Regions from separate parts of the Homo sapiens genome. Here region 1 is linked to region 2. Evidence: promoter capture Hi-C in human tissues and cell types (Jung and others, 2019). All regions are on one chromosome and are shown on one strand. The core of a region is centred on a gene start or on the middle of the fragment in contact, and the rest is flanking DNA. Distances in the headings are between cores, read along the strand shown.

Region 1 (3,188 bases), core at 582-3,081, 180 kb before region 2:
CCCAGCTACTTGGGAGGATGCTTGAGCCTGGGTGGATCATGATGGCACCACCACATGCCAGCCTGGGAGACAGAGCAAGAACCTGTCTCAGAAAAGAAAAAAGAAATACAAGGGCACAATTTGGTAAGTGCTCTCACAGAGGATAGATAAAGGGTCCTGAGATACAGAGGCGGGAGACTTACTCTCAAAGACAGAATCCAAAAAGGCTGCTTTCGGGGAAAAGTGGCCTGAGAGTCAGGCCTTGTTGGACAAGTTCCCCTAACGTGCTAAGCAGAGACCTGTTTCACAGGCCAAAAGAGCATGGAAGCTCAGCCAGAGGGACCCAGGCGGGCCCACCTCACGCCTGTGTTCCTCGGCAGCCTCTGCTGCCCCCTGGTGGCCATGCTGTGCACACCGCCACCAGACGAGGGCGCCACCCACAGGCACCACCTGCTCCCACCCTCAGGCAGTATTTCAATGGTCCCGTGGCTCTGGGCCACGCCCACATGACTAGCAGCCACAGCTGATCCCATGGCCTGTTGGCCACCCCATCAGCAGCCCCTGCTTCTGATTTCTCCCCGTGCTTTTTTTTTTTTTGGAAACAGAGTCGCCCAGGCTGGAGTACAGTGGCACAATCTCAGCTAACTGCAACCTCTGCCTCCCAGGCTCAATTGATCCTCACACCTCATACCCCCAAGTAGCTGGGACTACAGGTGCACGCCACCACACCCAGCTATTTTTTTTTTTTTTTTTTTTGTATTTTTTGTAGAGACGGGGTTTTGCCATGTTGCTCAGGCTGGTCTCAAAGTCCTGGGCTAGGATGACAGGCATGAGCCACCGTGCCCAGCCTTGCCTGCGCTTTTCCTCCCACACTCCAACCAGATCCGCAGACGAGGCTGAGGGGCCCTCCATCTAATCAGAAAGGGCAGCCCTCTGCATGGACAGGCCCATAAGCATGTGGCTCAGCAAGGACGTGGCATCTTGTACAGAGTGCACAGGCCAACACATGTGCACACACAGGGGCGTAAGGCCACCAGGTTAGGTCTCTGTTCTGCACATGGGAGGGCCCCGCATCCAAGCTTCCTGCCCTTAGTTCCCGTATGTTGTTCATGCACCACTGTGAGACCCCCATGGCCCTGCCCGCTGCTGCCCTGCCCACCCCCTAGCTCTGGTGCCTCAACCTCCAGGACTGCAAGCACCCCAGTCCTTTCTCTCACAGACTCGCCTTACCTCTCTGAGACAGAAGAACAAGTCAGTCCCGTGGCTCACTCACAAAGCCAGCCCTGAACCCAGGTCTGACTCAGATGCCAAAACCTCCAGCCATCCCAGGGACTGGCCCCACCCCATGGTGGGCTGTGCCGCGGCTCTCAGCTGGACACAGCCCCTGTGGATGTACTGTGGCAGGCGGCCTGCCTTTCCTGATGCCCCAGCACCGCCACATGCCACCCATCTGGGCCTCCAGAGCTATACCTGCAGCAAGGCCAGGTCCGCATCTTGGGCTAGCTGCTGCAGGTTCTTCACAGCAGATGTGGTCTTGATCACCCGCACTAGGGCAGGGGAGCAGTCAATAGGAAGCTCACCCAGCAAGGACTTCTCATCACTGAGCAGCAGCAGGGCATGGTAGGGGCTGCAAAACAATCACCTGTCACGGAACACACGAAGTGCAGGAACCCTGCACCGGGTATGCACCAGGTCCTGCACCAGGTATGCACCGGGTATGCACCAGGTCCTGCACCAGGTATGCACCGGGTATGCACCAGGTATGCACCTGGGACTCAAACACACGGAACATACGAAGTGCAGGGAACCCTGCACCAGGTATGCACCAGGTCCTGCACGAGGTCCTGCACCGGGTGTGCATCAGGTATGCACCTGGGACACAAACAGGCAGCTGGAGCCTCCTGGCCCTTAACTGCGGAGAGAAGGGCCAAGAGCGGGATTTGAGAAAAGGGCAGTGGTCTGTTTGGAGGCCTTCACAAAATCTGCCAAGGACTGGCTCATGCCTATAATCCCGGCACTCTGGGAGGCCAAGGCAGGCAGGTCACGTGAGGTCAGGAGTTCGAGGCCAGCCTGGCCAACATGGTGAAACCCCATCTCTACTAAAAATAAAAAAATTATCCGGGTGTGGTTGCACCCACCTGGGGTCCCAGCTACTCGGCAGGCTGAGGCAGGAGAATCACTTGAGCCTGGGAGGCGGAGCTTGCAGTGAGCCGAGATTGCGCCATTGCACTCCAGCCTGGCGACAGAGTGAGACTCTGTCTCAAAAACAACAAAAACAAAACCTGCAAGGATTATGTCACCCTCGGAAAAAAACACGACAAAAGTGGGGAAGGCTCGAAGACTGGACTCTGTATCCCACCTCAGAGACGCCCAGCAAACATCTGTTGATTGAAGACATGAATGAATCTTTCCTAAGGAAATTGTCCCAAATATGGGAAAAGCAAAATCCTCCTCACAGACTAGGGACCAAAGTACATTAAAATATGCTTAGCTAGGATTGAAAGCAAAGAGCACGGACTGGGGAGGGTGGAACTAGGCAGCGCTTTGCTTTCTGTCATTTCCAAATTTTCAGCAATGTGCCCAGATATATTTTTATAATTAAAAAATGTTCAAGGTATTGGGGGACTTGGGAACAGGTGGTGCCAGAAGACTGGGCTCAGTTCTTTCCTTGCAGAAAATCAATTAAATTGCCAGGGCATGGTGGCTAACACCTGTAACCCAGCACTTTGGCAGGCCGAGGCGGGTGGATCACGAGGTCAGGAGTTCAAGACGAGCCTGGCCAACATGGTGAAACCCCATCTCTACTAAAAATACAAAAATTAGCCAGGTGTAGTGGTGTGCACCCATAATCCCAGCTACTCAGGGGGCTGAGGCAGGAGAATCGCTTGAACCCGGGAGACAGAGGCTTCACTGAGTGGAGACTGTGCCACTGCACTTGAGCCCCGAGCAAGACTACATCTCAAAAAAAAAAAAAAAAAAGTCAATTAAATTAAGAAAGTATATTTTGGGAGGCTGAGATGAGCGATGAGTGGATCACCTGAGGTCAGGAGTTCGAGACCAGTCTGGCCAACATGGTGAAACCCTGTCTCTACTAAAAGTACCAAAAAAATTAGCCAGGCATGGCAGTGGGCGCCTGTAATCCCAACTACTCGGGAGCCTGAGGCAGGAGAATCACTTGAACTTGGGAGGTGGACGTAGTGGTGAGCCGG
Region 2 (3,201 bases), core at 416-2,915:
GGACATCTGGGCCAGAGGAGCTGCAGGCCTGGCGGTCTCTGGAGGCCCCTCCTGAAGGTCTGGGTGCGGTGCGGCACCTCCCCAGGCCGCCCTGCTCTCTCTGCTCGCTCTCTCCCTGAGCCCCCAGAGGCTTCCCTTGAGTCCCTTTGGATAGTGGGAGGTACAGCTGGCCAGAGGGGGCTCCAGCCTGGTGCTCGAATGCCAGGGTCCGCTAGTGGCTGCTGCTCACGCCCCTCCCCACCCCCAGTCCTCCTGGCTGACAAGGAGGGTGGGCCGCCGGCAGTGGACGAGGTGTTGGATGAGGCTGTGCCCGAGTACCGGGCGCCGGGGAGGAAGAGCCTCTTGGAGATCCGGCAGCTGGACCCGGACGACAGGAGCCTGGCCAAGTACAAGCGGGTGCTGCTGGGGCCCCTGCCACCGGCCGTGGGTATGGCAGGGGTCTAGGCTTGGAGGGCTGGGTCTGGGGGGCTGGTGAGGAGCCTGGTGGGGGTGGGGGGCATCCTGCAGACTTCCAGTTTCTCCTCAGACCCAAGCCTGCCCAATGTGCAGGTGACCAGGCTGACACTCCTGTCGGAACAGGCTCCGGGGCCCGTCGTCATGGATCTCACAGGTAACTCGCAGGATGCTGCACCCTGAACACAGGTAGGGCCCTCCCAGGCACGCTTCTGCACCCCTGAGTTCCGAGCCCTGGGCCATCACAGTCGCACACCTCATGGGTACCACACCCTACGTGGGGGCTCCTGGAGCAGGTCTCAGCCTGTAGGGGAGTTCCGACCCTAGCTGAGGTTTCCCCAATAGGGGACCTGGCTGTTCTGAAGGACCAGGTGTTTGTCCTGAAGGAAGGTGTTGATTACAGAGTGAAGATCTCCTTCAAGGTGAGAGCCGGGGCAATGGGCGGAGGGGATGGGGGTGGGGGCAACAGCCAGAGGCCTGGCCCCCAGAGGAACCCCTAATGCCTCTGTTCCCAGGTCCACAGGGAGATTGTCAGCGGCCTCAAGTGTCTGCACCACACCTACCGCCGGGGCCTGCGCGGTGAGGGCAGCGGTGGGGGGAACGGGGCGGGGGGGGGAAGCGGGGGCAGACAGAGGACAGCTCTGATGCCCTCGCCCTCCCTAGTGGACAAGACCGTCTACATGGTGGGCAGCTATGGCCCGAGCGCCCAGGAGTATGAGTTTGTGACTCCGGTGGAGGAAGCGCCGAGGGGTGCGCTGGTGCGGGGCCCCTATCTGGTGGTGTCCCTCTTCACCGACGATGACAGGACGCACCACCTGTCCTGGGAGTGGGGTCTCTGCATCTGCCAGGACTGGAAGGACTGAACCCCCAGTCCGTGTCTCCCCTACCTCCCTCAGTTGTTGCACAGGGACCCCCAAGCATCCCCAGCACCCCCCGTGAGTGACCAGACCCTCCCCTGCTGCCCCTGCTGCCCCTGCTGCCCCTGCTCTGTCCCGGGACCCCCTGGCCTGGCGCTGTCCCCTGAGCTGTCCCATTAAACATGGCCCTGTCTCTCTCGGTGCCCTGGGTGTCGTCTCTTTCTGCCTCCCCTCCCCTGGGGGCCGGGGGCGGCCGCATGGGCCTTGTCTTTGCTGGGACTGGGCCTGTGTGCCACGTGGCAGCTGCTGCTTGGCTTCTGGCCCCCTTATCTGCCCCCGCCCCACGCGCCCTGGCAGCACCATGAGCCGCCAGCTTCTGCCTGTACTGCTGCTGCTGCTGCTCAGGGCTTCGTGCCCATGGGGTCAGGAACAGGGAGCGAGGAGCCCCTCGGAGGAGCCTCCAGAGGAGGAAATCCCCAAGGAGGATGGGATCTTGGTGCTGAGCCGCCACACCCTGGGCCTGGCCCTGCGGGAGCACCCTGCCCTGCTGGTGGAATTCTGTGAGTGCTGGGGCCAGTGGGGCTGGGGACCGGCGGGGGACCGGCAGAGCCCACCTGGGGGCCCCACCCTTTGCCGGCAAATGCAGGGCATGTGCCCAAGAGGGGCCTCCCCGCAGGCACTTGCCCCCACTGTGCCCAGGAGCTCTCTAGGAGGGGCCTGGGGGTCTGGTTGGGGCAGGCAGGAGCAGTGTGGTAGTACTGGGGGTACCCACAGGACTTGAGAACACCTGTGCCTCCCTGCTCGGCCAGCGGCCACGGTGCCAGAGTCACCACCTTGCCGGCCACTCCTCCAGCTGCCAGGGGCATCCCACAGACTCTGCAGAGGCTCGGGCAGTATCCAGGCTTTGGGGGCCCATGGAGGTCCCTGACGTGTGTGCCCTGTGGTCTTTTCGCAACCCTTGACACACATAGGAACTGTTCTTGCCTAGGAGGCCTTCACAGGCAGCCACATGGGCCCGGGAGCCCCAGCCATACAAGGCACGAAAGGGAGGGGTCTTTTTATTTTTATTTTTTGAGATGGAGTTTTGCTTTTGTCGCCCAGGCTGGAGTGCAGTGGCCCTATCTCGGCTCACTGCAACCTCCGCCTCCCAGGTTCAAGCAATTCTCCTGCCTCAGCCTCCCGAGTAGCTGGGATTATAGGCATACGCAACCAATCCCGGCTAATATTTTTTGTATTTTTAGTAGAGATGGGGTTTCTCCATGTTGGTCAGGCTGGTCTCGAACTCCCAACCTCAGGTGATATGCCCGCCTCTGCCTCCCAAAGTGCTGGGATTACTGGCGTGAGCCACTGAGCCTGGCTGTGGGGGGAGGGGGGGTGGTCTTTCAAGCTCTCCCAAGCCTTACTGGTCCCTGTGCTGCAGCCTGGGGGGCCACGAAGAGGCACTGGTGCTCGGCTTGTCCACGGCCAGGGCTCAGGGCAGAATGGAGCAGCACGCTTGTTCCCTGCTGGGTTGTCAGGTGTGGAGAGGGTGCTCCTGGGGTTGTGGTGGCCTGGGGCACTCACGGCCCCATCCCCCAGATGCCCCGTGGTGTGGGCACTGCCAGGCCCTGGCCCCCGAGTACAGCAAGGCAGCTGCCGTGCTCGCGGCCGAGTCAATGGTGGTCACGCTGGCCAAGGTGGATGGGCCCGCGCAGCGCGAGCTGGCTGAGGAGTTTGGTGTGACGGAGTACCCTACGCTCAAGTTCTTCCGCAATGGGAACCGCACGCACCCGGAGGAGTACACAGGTGAGGGGCAGGCCGGTCATTGGGGGGGCGGTGGCCAGGCCGAGGCTGAGGGGGACTCCCTGCAGGACCACGGGACGCTGAGGGCATTGCCGAGTGGCTGCGACGG

Evidence for each region. Contacts are between HindIII fragments. The study calls those that stand out against the background at their distance.
Region 1: a fragment that was not itself captured here is called in contact with the fragment with the promoter of PDIA2 in region 2 in 1 of the 25 tissues and cell types used here (aorta).

What each region holds. Positions count from the first base shown.
Region 1 is chr16:96,696-99,883 of GRCh38, forward strand. It overlaps NPRL3 (NPR3 like, GATOR1 complex subunit), which reads right to left. Exons shown (of 14, transcript NM_001077350.3): 9 at 1,450-1,606. Among named protein-coding and RNA genes, the nearest start is that of MPG, 20 kb to the left of the region's middle. The HindIII fragment of the contact is 4,700 bases long and covers 1-3,188 here.
Region 2 is chr16:281,499-284,699 of GRCh38, forward strand. PDIA2 (protein disulfide isomerase family A member 2) reads left to right here and starts at 1,666. Exons shown (of 11, transcript NM_006849.4): 1 at 1,666-1,870; 2 at 2,889-3,095; 3 at 3,161-3,201. The coding sequence starts at 1,672. It overlaps ARHGDIG (Rho GDP dissociation inhibitor gamma), which reads left to right. Exons shown (of 6, transcript NM_001176.4): 2 at 248-427; 3 at 527-610; 4 at 799-875; 5 at 969-1,032; 6 at 1,117-1,512. The coding sequence ends at 1,316. The HindIII fragment of the contact is 12,890 bases long and covers 1-3,201 here.